Regions from separate parts of the Homo sapiens genome. Here all the other regions are linked to region 3. The links are contacts of gene promoters, found by promoter capture Hi-C in human tissues and cell types (Jung and others, 2019). All regions are on one chromosome and are shown on one strand. Each heading gives the region's core, a stretch centred on a gene start or on the middle of the fragment in contact. The rest is flanking DNA. Distances are from core to core; before and after follow the strand shown.

The links. Contacts are between HindIII fragments. The study calls those that stand out against the background at their distance.
Region 1: a contact is called between a fragment that was not itself captured here and the fragment with the promoter of CSNK2A2 in region 3, in 4 of the 25 tissues and cell types used here (adrenal gland, bladder, dorsolateral prefrontal cortex and 1 more).
Region 2: a contact is called between a fragment that was not itself captured here and the fragment with the promoter of CSNK2A2 in region 3, in 1 of the 25 tissues and cell types used here (pancreas).
Region 4: a fragment that was not itself captured here is called in contact with the fragment with the promoter of CSNK2A2 in region 3 in 2 of the 25 tissues and cell types used here (liver and spleen).

Annotation. Positions count from the first base shown.
Region 1 is chr16:58,537,494-58,541,373 of GRCh38, forward strand. CNOT1 (CCR4-NOT transcription complex subunit 1) reads right to left here. Exons shown (of 49, transcript NM_016284.5): 35 at 2,275-2,466; 36 at 1,279-1,421; 37 at 665-773; 38 at 398-567. Among named protein-coding and RNA genes, the nearest start is that of SNORA46, 9.2 kb to the right of the region's middle. The HindIII fragment of the contact is 7,254 bases long and covers 1-3,880 here.
Region 2 is chr16:58,577,527-58,581,731 of GRCh38, forward strand. It overlaps CNOT1 (CCR4-NOT transcription complex subunit 1), which reads right to left. Exons shown (of 49, transcript NM_016284.5): 11 at 3,819-3,989; 12 at 3,107-3,234; 13 at 1,173-1,413. Among named protein-coding and RNA genes, the nearest start is that of SNORA50A, 20 kb to the left of the region's middle. The HindIII fragment of the contact is 5,349 bases long and covers 1-4,205 here.
Region 3 is chr16:58,195,429-58,199,434 of GRCh38, forward strand. CSNK2A2 (casein kinase 2 alpha 2) reads right to left here and starts at 2,678. Exons shown (of 12, transcript NM_001896.4): 1 at 2,205-2,678; 2 at 1,305-1,416. The coding sequence starts at 2,308. RefSeq lists silencers at 2,112-2,181, 2,582-2,851, 2,902-3,031. The HindIII fragment of the contact is 10,880 bases long and covers 1-4,006 here.
Region 4 is chr16:57,883,657-57,887,745 of GRCh38, forward strand. It overlaps CNGB1 (cyclic nucleotide gated channel subunit beta 1), which reads right to left. Exons shown (of 33, transcript NM_001297.5): 33 at 1-801. The coding sequence ends at 508. Among named protein-coding and RNA genes, the nearest start is that of KIFC3, 83 kb to the left of the region's middle. RefSeq lists enhancers at 1-478, 479-1,026. The HindIII fragment of the contact is 6,440 bases long and covers 1-4,089 here.

The DNA of each region.
Region 1 (3,880 bases), core at 1,298-3,797, 340 kb after region 3:
TGTTTGCCTACTATGTACCATGCTTTCTTTACGTTACTTCTCTTGATTTCCAATAGTTCTTTGAGAAATTATTTCCATTTTCTATAAAGAATAGGTTTAAGGAGGATAAGTCAATTTGCCTAAAATCAGAAAGCTTTTAAGTGGCATGACCAGGGCTTAAACATAGGACTCTGACACTAAGTCTGGTACCGTATGTACTGCTCTGTGCCAAGAAGACTTGGCAGTCAATTAGGCTTTCATACTTCAAGTGACAATATTAGCCCTTACCAAAGCTACCCACCCATATGTGGTTGGTAAAGCAGTTATAACAAGTAATGTTAGTAAGTCTGCATATTCATTCCTAAAGATATTAGAAGACTACTAAATGCACAGGGATCTCAAAGCATTTCATCCTCACCCTTCTGGAGCATTGCCTCTGGAATGAGCATTAATCCTCATGAGGGTTTCAATGGTGTGGAACAGATCTGCCTCAGTAACATGAGCAACACTCCTTTCATCCACCAGCAGGATTTTTACTAACTGCATAGCAAATGCCACAGCCATGTAGTTTAAGCCATTCTCCATTGACTGGCAACACAGAAAACATAATGTGAGAGGGAAAACACTTAAGAGCAAACGTACTTCCCTGAGTCCTTTTGTCCGTGCAAGTAAATTCCTTCCATACCTGCGCTAGGTGAAGATCATACTGCTGCATATTAACCAAATGATTGCGAATTAGCAGCTCCACAGCCTCCACATTATATTTATATTCATCTCGACATTCAATTAGGCACCTAGAAAAAGTTCAATATCTTTACTCATATAGGCTTAACCATACTGTAAAAGGGCCCATTTTACTCAATGGAAATTTGCTCCAAACTAAGAATGCCTTGAGATTCAACTCCAAATCAGTGTCCAAATTTAAAAACAGCCAGTAATGAAATAGAACAGATAGCCCAAGCTTTCCTTTCAAATCCTAGGATACAGAGTATTCCATTTAAGACATTAAAATACTTATACACGAATACCACTTCTGAGAAATCACTGTAACCTTTTAAAACAATGACCTACAATTTATTCCCCAAAACAAGGTACTGGTTTTCTATATCCAACATGGGGAGAAGGTAGAGACCAGATGGAAAACAACTACTTAACAATTCTCACCTCTCAGAAGTAGGAAGTCTAAGTGTCCGACCTACCTACTAGAAAAAAGGGAAACCCCTGGACATAAACAGTACTATCTATGTCAAAAGGCAGTCGCAGTCCAATACTCACTACTTTTCGAAGATGGCTACTGACCTTGTGATCTGTTTGTTGCACCATGGAGACCCATATGCCCGGCCATCCTGCAGAGCTTTTAGGACCAAGAGGTGGCATTCCCTGTAGCGCAGCAGAAGGTCAGCATCAGCACCACTTGTGGCATCTAGTAAGCCCTCTACAGCCTATGGGAGAAAGAAAGCGTTCAAAACCATGAAAAATACAGTGCTTGGCCCAACTATCACAGCCAGAAACCAAATCTCAATGCCAAGTACCAAATACCTTCCAAAGCCTCCCTGTCCTTTCCACTCTCCAAACATCCCTTTCAGTTGCCTATCACACACACTCTAAATTCTATCTGATTTAAGTTCATTCTGTGCTCTTCATTGTCATAAAAGGCTCTGCTGTAGTTAAAATCCAGGGCTCCCTACCTACCCTGATCCAAATTATTGGATCAACTTGTCCCTCAAAATCTAAAGGGCAGCTGGGCTCAGTGGCTCATGTCTATAATCCTAGCGCTTTGGGAGGCTCAGGAGGGAGGGCCACTTGAGCCCAGGAGATTGAGAACGACCTGGACAACAAAGCAAGACCTGTCTCTACAAAAAAATTAAAAATTAGCTTGGCTTGGCAGTGAGCACCTGTAATACCAGCTACTCGAGAAGGTGATGTGGGAGGTTCACTTAAGCCCATGATCACATCACTGCACTCAAGCCTGACAGAGAGAGACCCTGTCTCTTACACACACACACACACACACACACACAGACACACACACCCCTCTAAAGGGCTACCTTTTAAAGTTTCTTCAAATCACATTTCCAGAATATCTTTAAGAAAAAAAATGAAGATTTCCAAGTTTACCATTCAAAACTGCCATGACTACATTCTACGTTGGAAAAAAAAAAAATCACCTACTTACAGAACTTGATTTATATTATGAAATCTTAAGCATAACTGCATAAATATGTAGATGGTGGTGCAGGTCAATAAATGTTTACACACCTAGCATTTTCTAAAAGTAATAGCTTAAGAACCAACCTTTTGGAGCAATCCAAGAGCAGCTATGGCATCCCGAGAGTTTCGAGATAAAACTACAACCTCCAAGAGACTTCGAAGAGCCTGAGCTTGAGGGTTCATGGCCAAAGTTGGTGGGATGGCATGTAGATGTTGCTCCAGTTCTGTAATACACTTATCATAAATCTGAGCTACATCATCTGTTGCCCAAGCTTGCTGTTTTACAGAAGGAAACAACCAACAAGAGACAAAAGAATGTTAAGGTTTTTTATTGACACATGTATCAAATAGAGGTCTACTAGTATGTTTACTCCCTTTTTCTTATTTTTACATTCAAACATGGAGGGCCTCTTCTTTTCCTTCTTCCTGAGCTATTCAGAATTAATACCATCAAGTGGCACAGTACAAGGCAGGCATAAGGGAAGAGGTGTTTCATTTGAGAGAGGAAAACCTGGCAGACAGCAGCATAATCAAGTGATAAAAGAGAGCATTAGTAACAATGAGACAGACTGAGGGCAGCACCACTTGTACCATCTACTAAGCCCTCTATATCCTAAGAAAGTAAGTGTTTCAAACCATGAAAAATACAGTACTCAGTCCAACTGTCAAAGCCTGATAGGATAGAGTAAGAATACAGCATTACTTCTGAGCTATTCCTATTTTTAAAAACACATTACCTGAACCTAGTCATGAGAATACACTGGACAAACAAATCAAGTCATTTAGAAAATAATTAGCCTATAATATTCAGAAGTGTTATGGTCATGAAAGATGAGGAAAAACTGAGTTACCTACACCAGCTAGAACTGAGGGAGACTTTAAAAATATGACAACTGAAGAAATGTGTGATTCTAAAACAGGTCTTTTACTATACATTATTGGGATACATGGTGAAACTCGAGTGAGGTCTATGAATTAGATGGAGTAAGGTTATTAGTATTCATTTCTGACCTTAATGGTTGTACCATGGTCACACAGGAAAAGGGTTTTTTAAGAAATACAAACCAAAGGAAAAAGGTTTTGTAAGAAATACAAACCAAAGGATTCAGGAGCGATGGGGGTATCAGGTCAGCAACTTACTATCGACCGGTTCGGGGGAAAATATTTTTCCCTATATTTCCAAGTTTTCTGTAAACACCTTTGAAAATTTTAGAAAATTCTTTTATTTAAAAAATGGGAAGGCTGGGCACAATGGCTCAGGCCTGTAATCCCAGCACTTTGGGAGGCCAAGGTAGGCGATCACTTGAGGTCAGCAGTTTGAGTCTAGTCTAGGCAACATGGCAAAACCCCATCTTTACAAAAAATACAAAAATTAGCTGAGCATGGTGGCACACGCCTGTAGTCCTAGCTCCTCAGGAGGCTGAGGTGGGAGGATCGCTTGAGTCTGGGAGGTGGAGGTTGCAATGAGCTGAGATCGCGCCACTGCACTCCAGCCTGGGTGACAGAGAAAGACCCTGTCTCAAAAAAATAAATAATAAAATTTAAAAATAAAAAACCGAAAGTTATTATGTTACCATGAGAATTCCCCTAATTAGGCCGAACATTAAAGTTAAATCACCCACACCCATGTCAATTTTTCTTTAATCCCCTGTATGTCATACTTAATTGGACACAAAGAATACCTACAACT
Region 2 (4,205 bases), core at 937-3,436, 380 kb after region 3:
GTATATAATATAAACTACTCCAAGTATGGGTAAAGGATAAAAAGTAGCTAAAAAGGGCACTCGGGGTAAAGGGGAAGAAAGTTTTTTTCTGCATGTATCATATAATGTAGGATATTAGCTTGGGAAACAGGGCAAGACTCTGTCTCTACAAAAATTCAAAAAATTAACCGGGTATGGTGGCATGTGCCTGTGGTCCCATCTACTTAGGATGGCTGAGGCAGAATGACTGACTGAGCCTGGGAGGTTGAGGCTGCAGTGAGACATGTTTGCATCACTGCACTCCAGCCTAGGTGACAGGGCAAGCAAGATCCTCTCTCTCAAAAAAAAAAAAAAAAGTAGGGGAGGGAAAAAAATCAGTGGACAAAAGAATACTTACTTGCCAAATACATTCTACAAAATTAGAGGTAAAAAGCACAGGGGCTTGAAAGGCATTTCAGCACAAACTGAAATAAAATGTAAATGTTGGATTTAGATAAATTAGAAAAGAGTGCTAATTAAAAATTGCTCTGTGATCTCTCATTTCTTGTGAACATATGACATCAATACCTTCTGCCTCCATGATAGATGTTTAAGCTCCTTCGCATAAAAAGGAAAGTGATGCCCTAGCAATACAGACCTTTCTTAATATTGAAATTATTAAATATTGGCCGGGTGTGGTGGCTCACACCTGTAATCCCAGAACTTTGGGAGGCCGAGGTGGGTGGATCATTTGAGGTCAGGAGTTTGAGACTATCCTGGCCAACATGGTGAAATCCCACTTCTATTAAGAATACAAAAATTAGCTGTGCATGGTGATGCACGCCTGTAATCCCAGCTCCACAGGAGGCTGAGGCAGGAGAATCACTTGAACCCAGGAGATGGAGGTTGCAGTGAGAAAGACTGCACCATTGCACTCCAGCCTGGGCGACAGAGCAAGACACCATCTCAAAAAAAAAAAAAAAAGGAAAGAAAATAAAATTATTAAATATTATTTTGCCTCCTTGCTTTTGGGATCTTGTATTTTATTGCTCACATGATTCTAAAAGATAAAACAAGTTTTATGACAGTATGACTTTTAAAGTCATAATAATTCAGAGATGTAAAAAAAAATTTCTCTGGTTGAGCTTCCTCAACACTCCAAAGAAGATCAATTATTCAGATGAAAAAATGGTAAGCACACGGTCACATCTTACCTGCCCATGCCATGCATAGTGCAAAATAATAGCTGAGTTAGGATGGTTTCCAAGGAAAATTGGCATCAGAGTGGAGATAAGTTCATGGCGCAAGGTATGCCAAGAGGTGTTAATTTGTAGTAAGGCCAATACCAGCATGTCTGGACAGTGTTTGATAGGGAAGCTGAAGAGCTGTTTGACTTGCTCATACTGCCCAACCTCTGCAAGCCTCAGCAGAGATTCAATCAAATCCAAGCTCTTCCTAACGAGAAAGGAAGAAACATGCTTTATCAATGAAAATCCAAGTATACAGATTAATTTTCAAAATAAGTGATACCAGCTTGTAAGCACAAAACCAAGTTGGTGTCATGTTTTAATATTAGAAGTTTGAAGTCCACAGCACTCTCTTTAAGAATTATTTTTGCCCCAAGAGGTTGAAACTGGTTGACTTTAACTGAGCCTGAAGATCTAACTCTATCCTCAGCCCATGAAAACCATGGGGATAGAGAATGAAGTAAACACCATGAGAAAACAGGTAAGAAAATAACATGGGGTAGACTAGAGAACAAATGCTGTATTTCTCTATCAAATCAATGGCAAAAAATAAATTTAAAAGACAGAACAAAGACAGATTTACAGAATAAAAGAAACTATGGACTGCGTCTGGATTCTCAATCATAGAAATTTTTAAAAGACATTTTTGAGCCAATTGGGGAACTTAAATGTAAATAACTACCTATATTAAGGAACTGTTATTTGTTAATGTGATAATGGTATTTAAGCTTTATAAAAATGGAAAGAGCCCTTTATCTGTTCAAATAAAATGAAGAAGAAACACTACTATATACACTAGACTCATAAGGAAAAAAATAAGCAATTTTTCAAATCTAATGTTGGCTACCACCTAAGAAAAGAACACACCACCACCAAAAAAAGTAAAGACAATTATTTGATCAATAACAGAAATGTGTTCTGGGAGGGTATAGATAGAAAAAAATTGAAGATACATTATGAACTAGATCCCTTTGGGGAACAATTCAGGCCGCGCTCTCTCCCTGTAGCCCTGCGTACTTCAAAAATGATCAAAGTACTTGTACCATTCTTTCTTCACACATTCACAGAGAGGAATGACGGGACAGAGTTCCAAGAGAAACCTGATATACACACCAGGCCGGACTAAGATTCTACCTCGAAAATTTGAAACTGGAACTCAGAGAAACTAGATACTTTAGCTGAAAAGCATTAGATTTGGCCAGGTGCTGTAGCTCACACCTGCAATCCCAGCACTTTGAGAGACCGAGGCGGATGGATCACTTGAGGTCAGGAGTTTAAGACCAGCCTTGCCAACATGGTAAAACCTCATCTCTACTAAAAATATAAAACTTAGCCCAGGGCGGTGGTGAGCACTTGTAATCCTAGCTACTCGGGAGGCTGAGGCAGGAGAATCGCTTAAACCGGGGAGGCGGAGGTTGCAGTGAGCTGAGATTGTGCCACTGCACTCCTGAGATTGTGCCACTGCACTCCAGCCTGGGCAACAGAGCGAGACTCCATCCCAAAAATATAAATAAGAAAAGAAAAGAAAACTATTAGATTTGACAGGTTGGCCACCTTGAGCAACTTACAAATAAAAAAAAAAAAAGGCATAAGCTCTACAGAGAAGAAATCTCAATACTAAGGGAGAAAGGAGGAAGTACAAATCTTTCCAACATTTGATACTTTCAGATTTGATGCTTTTAAAAGAACACCTAAAGACAGACCTTACAAGATATAACTAACGATAGAGACTGAAAAAGAATTTATCTACCAACCCCCTCTATAAATACTTAAGATAAGTAAGGTCACTAAAACTACTGCTTCATTTAAACCTGTTAACTATGTACTTGGCTTACTATTAACTTTATATTTCACAAAATAAGAAGTAATCTTTTAAATGAAAGATGAATCAAAGTGTTTACCATGTGGCAATTTCTCGATTGTCATCCTCTGGTGGTGCTTTCAGAATATCAGTGGCAACAGTATGACAGGGATAGTCAGCAAAACAGAAGATCTCTGGATTTATAAGGGAATGTTGAATGAAGGAGAGCTGCAATGAAAGAAAATGCTTACCACCATAAATGATTGTGAATGCTATAAAAATCTGAAATGTTTTCACTAGGCTATTGTCAATCTTAAGGTTATTAGCATGGCAATTTCCCGTTTAAAATCTTAATTATTTGCCCTTTGAAAACCACACATAATTCAGACACATTAAAGGTGCATAATGAAACCCTGTCTGGATTATCAATCATAACAACTGTTAAAAGACATTTCTGAGCCAATTAGGGAAACTTAACGTTGCCTTGGAAATGAACATCATTAAACTATTGGGAAAACACCTTGACTGTTAAAAGACATTTCTGAGCCAATTAGGGAAACTTAACGTTGCCTTGGAAATGAACATCATTAAACTATTGGGAAAACACCTTGACAGTTACACCTTAAAGGAGTCTGCCTAATACTAAAACTATGATAATATTCCTTCAATACTTATGGACAGTCCTTGCTTTTCTGTGCTATGTATAACAAATTCTACTTTACAAGAATATTTCGATCAATGGGTAGATGGCACTACATAAAGAATAAGTCATGTTTTATTCCCCCATCTATAGCTAAATACCACTTACTCACCTGGCCTTCAGCATGTTTCCAAGGTCTATATATGAGGTCTACTGGGAACACTTCCATACCCAAACCCCTCTGAATGCCATAAACCACATTATGAAGTCCTTTACTGTCACGAATTTGAAATCCAGGATGGTCCAGTTCATAAGTTACTTCCTTGAAATTCAAACTTGGATTCTAAAAAAGACCAAAGCAGTTTAAAATGTAATGAATGTGTGTATATTTTGATACATTATCCAAAAGGCCAAATTAAATCTGAAATTCAATTTAGATGTTCTACTTACAAAATTTTTAATGTGAATTTTAAGAAACCCATTCTTTTTTTTTCTTTTTTTTTTTTTAAGACAGAGTCTCACTCCGTTGCTCAGGCTGCAGTGCAGTGGCATGATCTCA
Region 3 (4,006 bases), core at 1,428-3,927:
ACATTAAACAGGGATTACCTATACCAGCTGCCCTAGCACACAGAAACAGCTTTTCTATACCACAGCTTTTCTAGTCCACAGAACCTCTGCAAAAGGGCCACAATGGAAATCACATGTATGCAAAGTGCTTACATCACTCTTCGGTCTTCTCAATCTCTCACTAAATGACTTGTATCCACATGAAATGATCCGGCAATAACGAGGACCCATCACAGATTCTAAGAACTACTTTTTACTATACCCTATAAAACATTATTAAAGCTACACAATCAGTTACCAGAAGGAAAATTTAGCCGACCCTTCATGCTAATTAAAATCATCTTCATCAAAGAGATAACGTCATATCATTATCAAATTCATTGCTAAACCATATATTAAGATAGTTTTGTTCCAATTATTACTTTAGTAATTATACATGAACTCTTCTATATTTTTACTAGCTTATAAGCAACAATGGCTCTCTGGCTTCCCAACAAGGCTTCTCAGCACTACTGGTGCACTGTATCCATACCACCTGAAACTTTACTGCCAAAGGAAAAAAACAAGTGATTATCCGCTAAGGAATTTCCTTCCACTTGGGCTTGAAATACATTTCTGAAGTCGCTCCAATTTTTTCCAACTTTCTTTCTGGAATAACATACAGCATGCACCAAGAGTAACAAACACAGTGCTCAGGGAGCCCTTAAATTGAGAGTGGCTTTTCTGTCTTTTGATTACCTATTTATTTTCTAACAAACGGAGCCCTTTTGGAATTTTTGCTTTAGGGAATTTACATTTTAGAACAAACACTTTACTGAACTTAGATTTGTGATGTCTGCACATTTTCTTGAAAGTTCATGGGAAAATGGGGTGGAAAAAGAAGTAATGAAGGGACATCAGATAAATAAAATTTGAGCGTCGGCTGGGCACAGTGGCTCACGCCTCTAATCCCAGCAACTATAGGAGGCCTGCAAGGAGTCCTTTTGGAGGACTGCTTGAGCTCAGGAGCTTAAGACCAGCCTGGGCAACATGACCAGACCCTGACTCTACAAAAAAATTTTAAAAATAGCTGGGCGTGGTGGCATGCACCTGTAGTCCCAGCTACTTGGGAGGCTGAGATGGATCACTGGAGCCCAGGAGTTGAAGGCTGCAGTGAACTATGATCTGCACTCCAGCCTGGGTGACAGAGTGAGACTCTGACTCTAAACAAATAAATTAAATTAAATTCAAGCTTGCATTGCCCATTATAGAATGTGACTGGGGTACCTTACAAACTTTTGCCCTGTGGGGAGGAAAATGTTACATACCACTCATAGGACACTCACCTTCAGGATTTTTACAACCACTCTCTCATTGTTGGTGATATTAATGGCCTCAAATACTTCACTATATTTTCCCCGACCAAGTTTTCGAACCAGTTGGTAATCATCTTGATTACTGTAAAAGGAAGACACACACATAAATGCCAGGACTGGGGGTTAACCAAGCCTATGCCCACTGTACACGTCATTCAGCCGCTTCCACCAGGCAAACACTTGGAAGTGTCTATACATCACGTCACAACTCATTCCCTAAATGAAAGCCACGACATAATCTTGGCTCCCTTCACTCTGCAGAGCTCCTAACCTAATTGGTCTCTCCTAACTTGGGAAGATGGGGCAGGAAGGCAACGCTCTGAGCCAATCCAGAGGGGCGAGCAAAGCACCCGTCCTGAAGGCCTAGAGGGTGCCCCCTGTGCCCCGCGGCTCCCCAGCACCTGCTTCTCGTTTCACATCTTCAAGGTAGACAATGCCTGTTTTAAAAATCTGGACGTCTTTAAGAAATTTCCTCCCACCACCTCATCTCAGAAAACCTAAAAGGCAGGGCATTTTAATAGCTCCAAAGGACAGCTGTTGACTTCCCACCCCAGTGGAAACCCAGAAGTGTGAGGAAGGGCAGCTCCCTCACTTCCACCCGGCGTCGATCCCTGGACCCCACACTTCTCCCCGAGTAAAAAAGCATTCCTTGGGGGAAAGGGGTGCGCAAAGCGGGGAGAAAGGGACGAAACGGGGGTAAAGGGGAGGGAAGAGGAAGACGAGGACATGTGCGAGAGCGGGACCTCTGCCTCCCTGCGGGCCCGCGGAGGGGTCGGCGGGAGACACCACCGGGCCCGAGTGCGGTTCGCAGGGGGTGGCCGGGCGGGGGCAGGGATCAGCGGGCCCGGCGGGGGGCGGCGACGGCTTTACCCCCAGCTCGGGACGTGAGCCTCGTAGTCCCAGTACTCGCGGCTCCTCAGACTGTTCACCTCGGCGTAGACCCGGGCCCTGCTGCCCGCGGCCGGGCCGGGCATGGCGGGCGGGACCGGGGGGCGGCGCGGGGCGCAGAGGGTGGCGGCGGCGGCGCGGCGGGGGACGCGGGGCGTCGGGCGGAGGAGGCAGCGGGCCGCCGGGCGCTGGAGGAGGAGGAGGAGGAGCGCGGCGGCGGGCGGCCGCGCCAGGCCGGGCCCGCGGGGGCGGGCGGGCTGGGGGCGCGGGGGGCGCCGGCCGAGCCGGCCCGGCCCTGGAGCGGCCGGCGGGGCGGCGGGGCGGGCGGCGCTCGCGCTCCGCGGCGGTCTCCGCTCGGCTCGCGGCCCCCAGGAGGCGGCGGCGGCGGCACCGGCAGCGGCAGCCACCGGCCGGGAAAGGGGCAGCGGCGGCGGCAGCGGAGAAGAAGGAGGAGAGGAGGAGGAGGCGGAGGAAACCCGGAAAAGGGGCCGCGCTCACTGGGAGCGGCCGCCGCCCGGCCTGGGGCCGCCCAGGCTCACAGCGCCCCCTGGAGCGCGGGGGGACCCGCCGGGCGGTGCCGGCCCCGCCCCGGCCCCGCCCCGGCACGCCCCGCCGCCTACCTCGCGCCCTCCGCCACCCTCGCCCTCCCGCCGCCACAGGTCGGACTGTCCAAATCGCCTCACCCTCGGGCTGGCTTGACTTCACGCCACAGGAGCCCCCCCTTCCACTGGCCGTTGCCCTAGAGCCCTCGCCCGCGACTCCCGACCCTTTCACTGTCCTTGGAGACCCTATCCCCAGCCCTGCACTCACCCAGCTTTTACCCACCCAACACATCCCATACTGACCCTATTCTGACCCTCCTGTCACCCAAACTGTCAAGTCCCTCCCCAGGGCCTCACTCAAACCTCAGAACCTCCCCCACCTCAATACTTCTCCCTTCCCCCGAGACATACCCCTCCTTCCCCCTCTGGACCCTGCCCTGTTAGGGTAGACTCCTCAGTCCCCAAGGCTTCCTACCCCCGTCATTCAGAGTGCTCCTCACAAAACCTTTCTACACTTCCCCCAAATGCCCTTCCAGAGCCTTCCCTGAATATCCACTTTGGTCACTTGGTTAAGCTGGCATTGACCAGGTTGTGCCACTGCAAAGTTACAATTTTTCCCTTTGTGATTAATAAGTCATTTGTGGGGAGAGACTTTGAGAGTGTAAATCTCCTGTTTGTGTTTAGGAGGAGGGAGAGCAGGAGAATTGCAAATCCGACCTGAAGGGACAGGCTGGGTTGGGGATGTGCCCAGAGTAGGTGGTCAACTGAGCTGGCCTGGCTTCCAGTGCTGCCTGCAGCCTTGAACACCCTTCTCCTTTGATCTTCTAGGCCTTTCTTCTGTCTTCCTTTCCCATCCCTCATCCTTTATCGACAGCACCTCTGCACCCAGTACAGGTTGCTTTCATTCCAGTCCCTTTTCACATTCTGTTTTCTGGATGAAACCCTGGGCCTTCCTGCTTGACACAGCTAAGAGCACAGTCTGTGGAGTCAGATCTATCCAGCACTGCTACTTAGAAGCTGTGTGACCTTAGGGCAATTACTCAACCTCTCTGTGTCACAGATTCTACAGCATAAAACCAGTAATAACGCTCACTTCACAGGGCTGCAAGGAGAATTAAACAAGGTAAACCATGTGAAACACTTAGGATGGTGTTCACTATTAGGATAGCATGTGTTCAATATGATTATTTCCAGGCCTAGGGCCTTTCTCTGCTCATTCCTCCCTCCCTGAGACCACCGTGC
Region 4 (4,089 bases), core at 902-3,401, 310 kb before region 3:
GATCCTCCTGCTTCGGCTTCCCAAAGCACTGGGATTATAGGCATGAGCCACCATGCCCGGCAGTGAAGTATTTTCTATCCTTGAAATGTGTTAGACAAATTCCTGAGGGGAAACCCCACACATTCAATAACACTTTACTTTTTCAGCAAAGCTTCCCATGTATTGGAGCCTCATTTTATCCCTCACCCATGAACTTTAAAAGTGGAAAATCATTTTGTTCTTAAAAAGAGGAACAGTCAGGAAAAGGTAGGGCTCTCAAATGATAGTGAGAGCTCAGGGACTCGAACACTTGATGCAACTTGTCGAGCTCAGGCCCAGCCCCGCGAGGAGCTGAGTCGGGGCTGGCGTGCTGGCGGGACGGTCAGAGCTGCAGCCACTGAGGTCACGACTACGGAAAAGCATCTTCTCTTGAGCCGTGGGGGAAGGTGGGGCGCTGGGGCGCAGGGGCGCAGCGGGCGCTGGGGACACACCTGCTGGAACTGCGCGCGGGATCCGCCTCACCCCACCTTACTCCGCCTTCTCCTCCCTTTCCTCCGGCATCTTCACCGACAGGATCTGCTCTCCCGGCTCCGGGCCCGGGCTCATGCAGATCCTCACCGAGTGCTCTTCGGGCTCGGCCGGCCCCTCCTCCTCTCCCTCCGGCCTCCCAAGGGAGGCAGGCGGTGGAGAGCTCGGTGGAGACCCCGGGGGCTCGGGGGGCGTCCGGGGCGCGGGTGGGTCGGTGGCGGCCTCCTTTGGGTGCGTGTGCTGGTCTGGGGCGGCGGAGCCTTCCTCTCCCTTGACGTCTTGCGAGCTCTTGGCCTGGAATCCAGAAAGGGTGACTCGTGAGGCACAGACTCTCGGAGGGGTCTTGGAAGGGTCTTGGACACCTCCCTGTTCCAGCCTTTTTGGACCCCCAAAGAGGGCAGCGGAACACACAGCGGGTGAAATCTAGTGGGTGGGGTGGAGCCGCATCGGGGTTATTTAGGAGAAACAAAATACATTATGGGGAAGTGTACAGATTAAAAGTCCCGGTTGGATTTCGTGGAAAGTCTTGGGATGTCTTAGATCTAGGCTGTGGGGCTGGAAGCTGGGATGAGGCTGTTGTTTCAAGTTCAGGGCCCCTCCCCCGAGCTATTGAAGCAAGCCAGGCAGTGACTCTGAGGGAGTACCCGCAAGGCCTCTGCAAAGGCTGAACCAACCATCTGTTACCAGGGGTGGGCACTCCTGGAGTGGATGAGAAAAACTCCAAGCAAACAGGGTAAAAAGTGATGAAGGGAGAGGCTGCTGGGGCTGGGCCCCCTTTCTGGGAAGTCTCAAAGGTTGAGATCCTCAGGGATACCCTGGGGCTGGGTACCCCTGCTATTGGGCTGCGCTGACCCCATGTGTGGGGACCTGATGGATACCTCCAGCCTCCAGCCTGTGCTGCCTCCCACAAACGATGGCCATGGTCTTCACATCAGTAGGGGACTGGGTAATTAAATCAAGCCTTTGCGGATACCTGTGGCCCCTCCCACTCTGCCTGACCCCATCTCTGCACGGAAGGAAACTGGAGAGGGAGCAGCCCCCAGAGGAGGCCAGGATGGTCCTCAGCTGCCCAAGACCCATGTGAAGTGGTGTTTGTGAGTTTCAAGTGAGAGCAGTCAATGTGCTTGTGCAGAGAGACCTGCGCCATTTGCTCAAGTCATAGGATATTGAAGGAAAGGAGGAATGGAGAGGGGGCAGCCAAAATGCTCCAAGAACCCAAGGCCTCTCTTGGGACATGCTTCTCCCTCTGTCTCAGTGTTTCCCTATGTTTTGGTGCCCCTGTCCCACCCTCCCCTGTCCACCCTACACTCTATTCTTTTTGTCTTCTTTCTTTCTTTCCTTCTTTCCTTCCTTCCTTCCTTTTTTCCTTCCTTCCTTCCTTCTTTCCTTCCTTCCTCTCTCTCTCTCTCTCTCTCTTTCTTTCTTTCTTTCTTTCTTTCTTTCTTTCTTAGACGGAGTCTTGCTCTGCCACCCGGGATGGAGTGCAGTGGTGTGATCTCAGCTCACTGCAACCTCTGCCTCCCAGGTTCAAGCGATTCTTCTGCCTCAGCCTCCCGAGTAGCTGGGATTACAGGTGTGTGCCATCATGCCTGGCTAAGGTTTTGTATCTTTAGTAGAGATGGGGTTTTACATGTTGGTTAGGCTGGTCTTAAACTCCTGACCTCAAGTGATCTGCCCACCTTGGCCTCCCAAAGTGCTGGGATGACAGGGGTGAGCCACCTGTGCCCAGCCCACCCTAAACTCTTGACAACACATTTCCAGGGCAGGATGCTTAGATGGTGAGCATCGTGGAACTTCCTGAAGCATGGTGCTATGGCTGGAATCAGCAGCTCATGGGAAGTTAGAAAAGTGCTTTGCTGTGTTCAACATGCTTTTCTAAAAGGCCTCCAAGGTAATCCTGCCTGATCTTTATGACCTCATGAGGCAACCCTCAGTAATCCAAGTCTCGGAAAGCTTGAGGGGCTTCCTGGGTCATGGAGCTAGTGGGTGACAGAGCTGGGATTTGGATTTGTGTCTCTGAATGTCTAGTTAAGAGCTCCCTGTACTCTGCCATTCTGCCCTGGTTGTTCTGATTTGGAAGGGAAGTGCCTTTTAATGGAACACTCATGCAAATTTAATTCCCATCTTAAAGCCCCCTTGCTGAAGAGCTACCACTTAGGAGCCACAAGCCCACCCCAGCTGAAGCTCTTGGTGTACTGGGAGCACCCTTGGAGTTCCTGTCTAGTCAGCCCTCACAGCAGCCAGCACTGAAGACCCCCACTTGCCAGCTCCACCTTGACCTTGACAGTTTGTGAGCCAGGCAATCACATCTTTCCTCAGTCTGGGGCCATTGGTGGCTGTATCTGGAGAATGTCTTGGTACCCCAAATGGCTTTGATGTCACTCACCAGACTTCTACTGTCAAACAACATCTGGATGGGTCTCCTGGACTCTGACACCAGGCTGGATTGAGACTGAGTTCACTGGGCTCCTTTGAACTCTGCTGTGTAGACTGTTAAGCCCAGTCTGCCTAACCCCAGTCCCTCTCCAGATCCCCAGCAGACTTCCTAAAGGACAGCCGTGAACAGACATAATTAATGTAATCATTCCACTTGGTATTCTTGGCTTTGGTCACAGAAAAAAGTCCCAGAACTAATTTTAATGTCCCCCATAGGTTTATGGGGGTGGGGACATTTGGCATTTTGCCTGTGTGAGAGGTTTTCACTTTCAAATTTTTATTTTTCATTTTTTGAGACAGGGTCTCACTCTGTCACCCAGGCTGGAGTGCAATGGTGCAATCATAGCTCACTGCAGTCTCGACTTCCTGGGCTCAAGTGATGCTCCCAACTCAGCCTCCCAAGTAGCTAGGACCACAGGCATGTGCCACTAAGCCTGGCTAATTAAAAAGAAAAAAAGAAAAAATTTGTAGAGACAAGTTCTCGCTATGTTGCCCAGGCTGGTCTTGAAATCCTGGCCTGAAGAGATCCTCCTGCCTTGGCCTTTCAAAGTGCTGGGATTACAAGTGTGAGCTACCATGCCTGACCCAAATATCTTAAATTGTCACAGACACAGTATTAAATATGAGGACACACTGTCTTCTGGGGCCGGACATTTGCTTCTCATACCCTCTCCTCTAACCTCTGCAACAGTATCAAGACTGCCTTTTAGAGATCCTGCTCCCAGCCTACTCTCAGTCCAGGGGCGGGTATGTGACCCAGGCCTCTTTAGAGCACCATAGTGCCCTGGCCACACCGAATGGCTCAAGAATTGGCATGTGACCCAATTCTGTCCAATGACAGTGAGTCCTGGAACTTTTGCTAGAATCCCTGGGAAAGAGGTGCTTTCTTTCTGTTGGAGTTGCTATGCCAGGAGGATGTCATCCTAGATAGAACTCTTGAGAACCTGTCTGGAGATAAAACCATCACTGAATAAAGCAGAGATGACACGATGGGAAAACTCGTCCTGTTGGCATCTTTCGGGCTTTTGGATCCAGGCTTGCCTGAACTTTTCGATTACGTGACCCCTAATTCCCGTTTTTCTCAAGCTAATTTGAGCTTGCACTCTGTCACTGGTAACCAAATGAGCCCTGACTGATAGAAAAAGG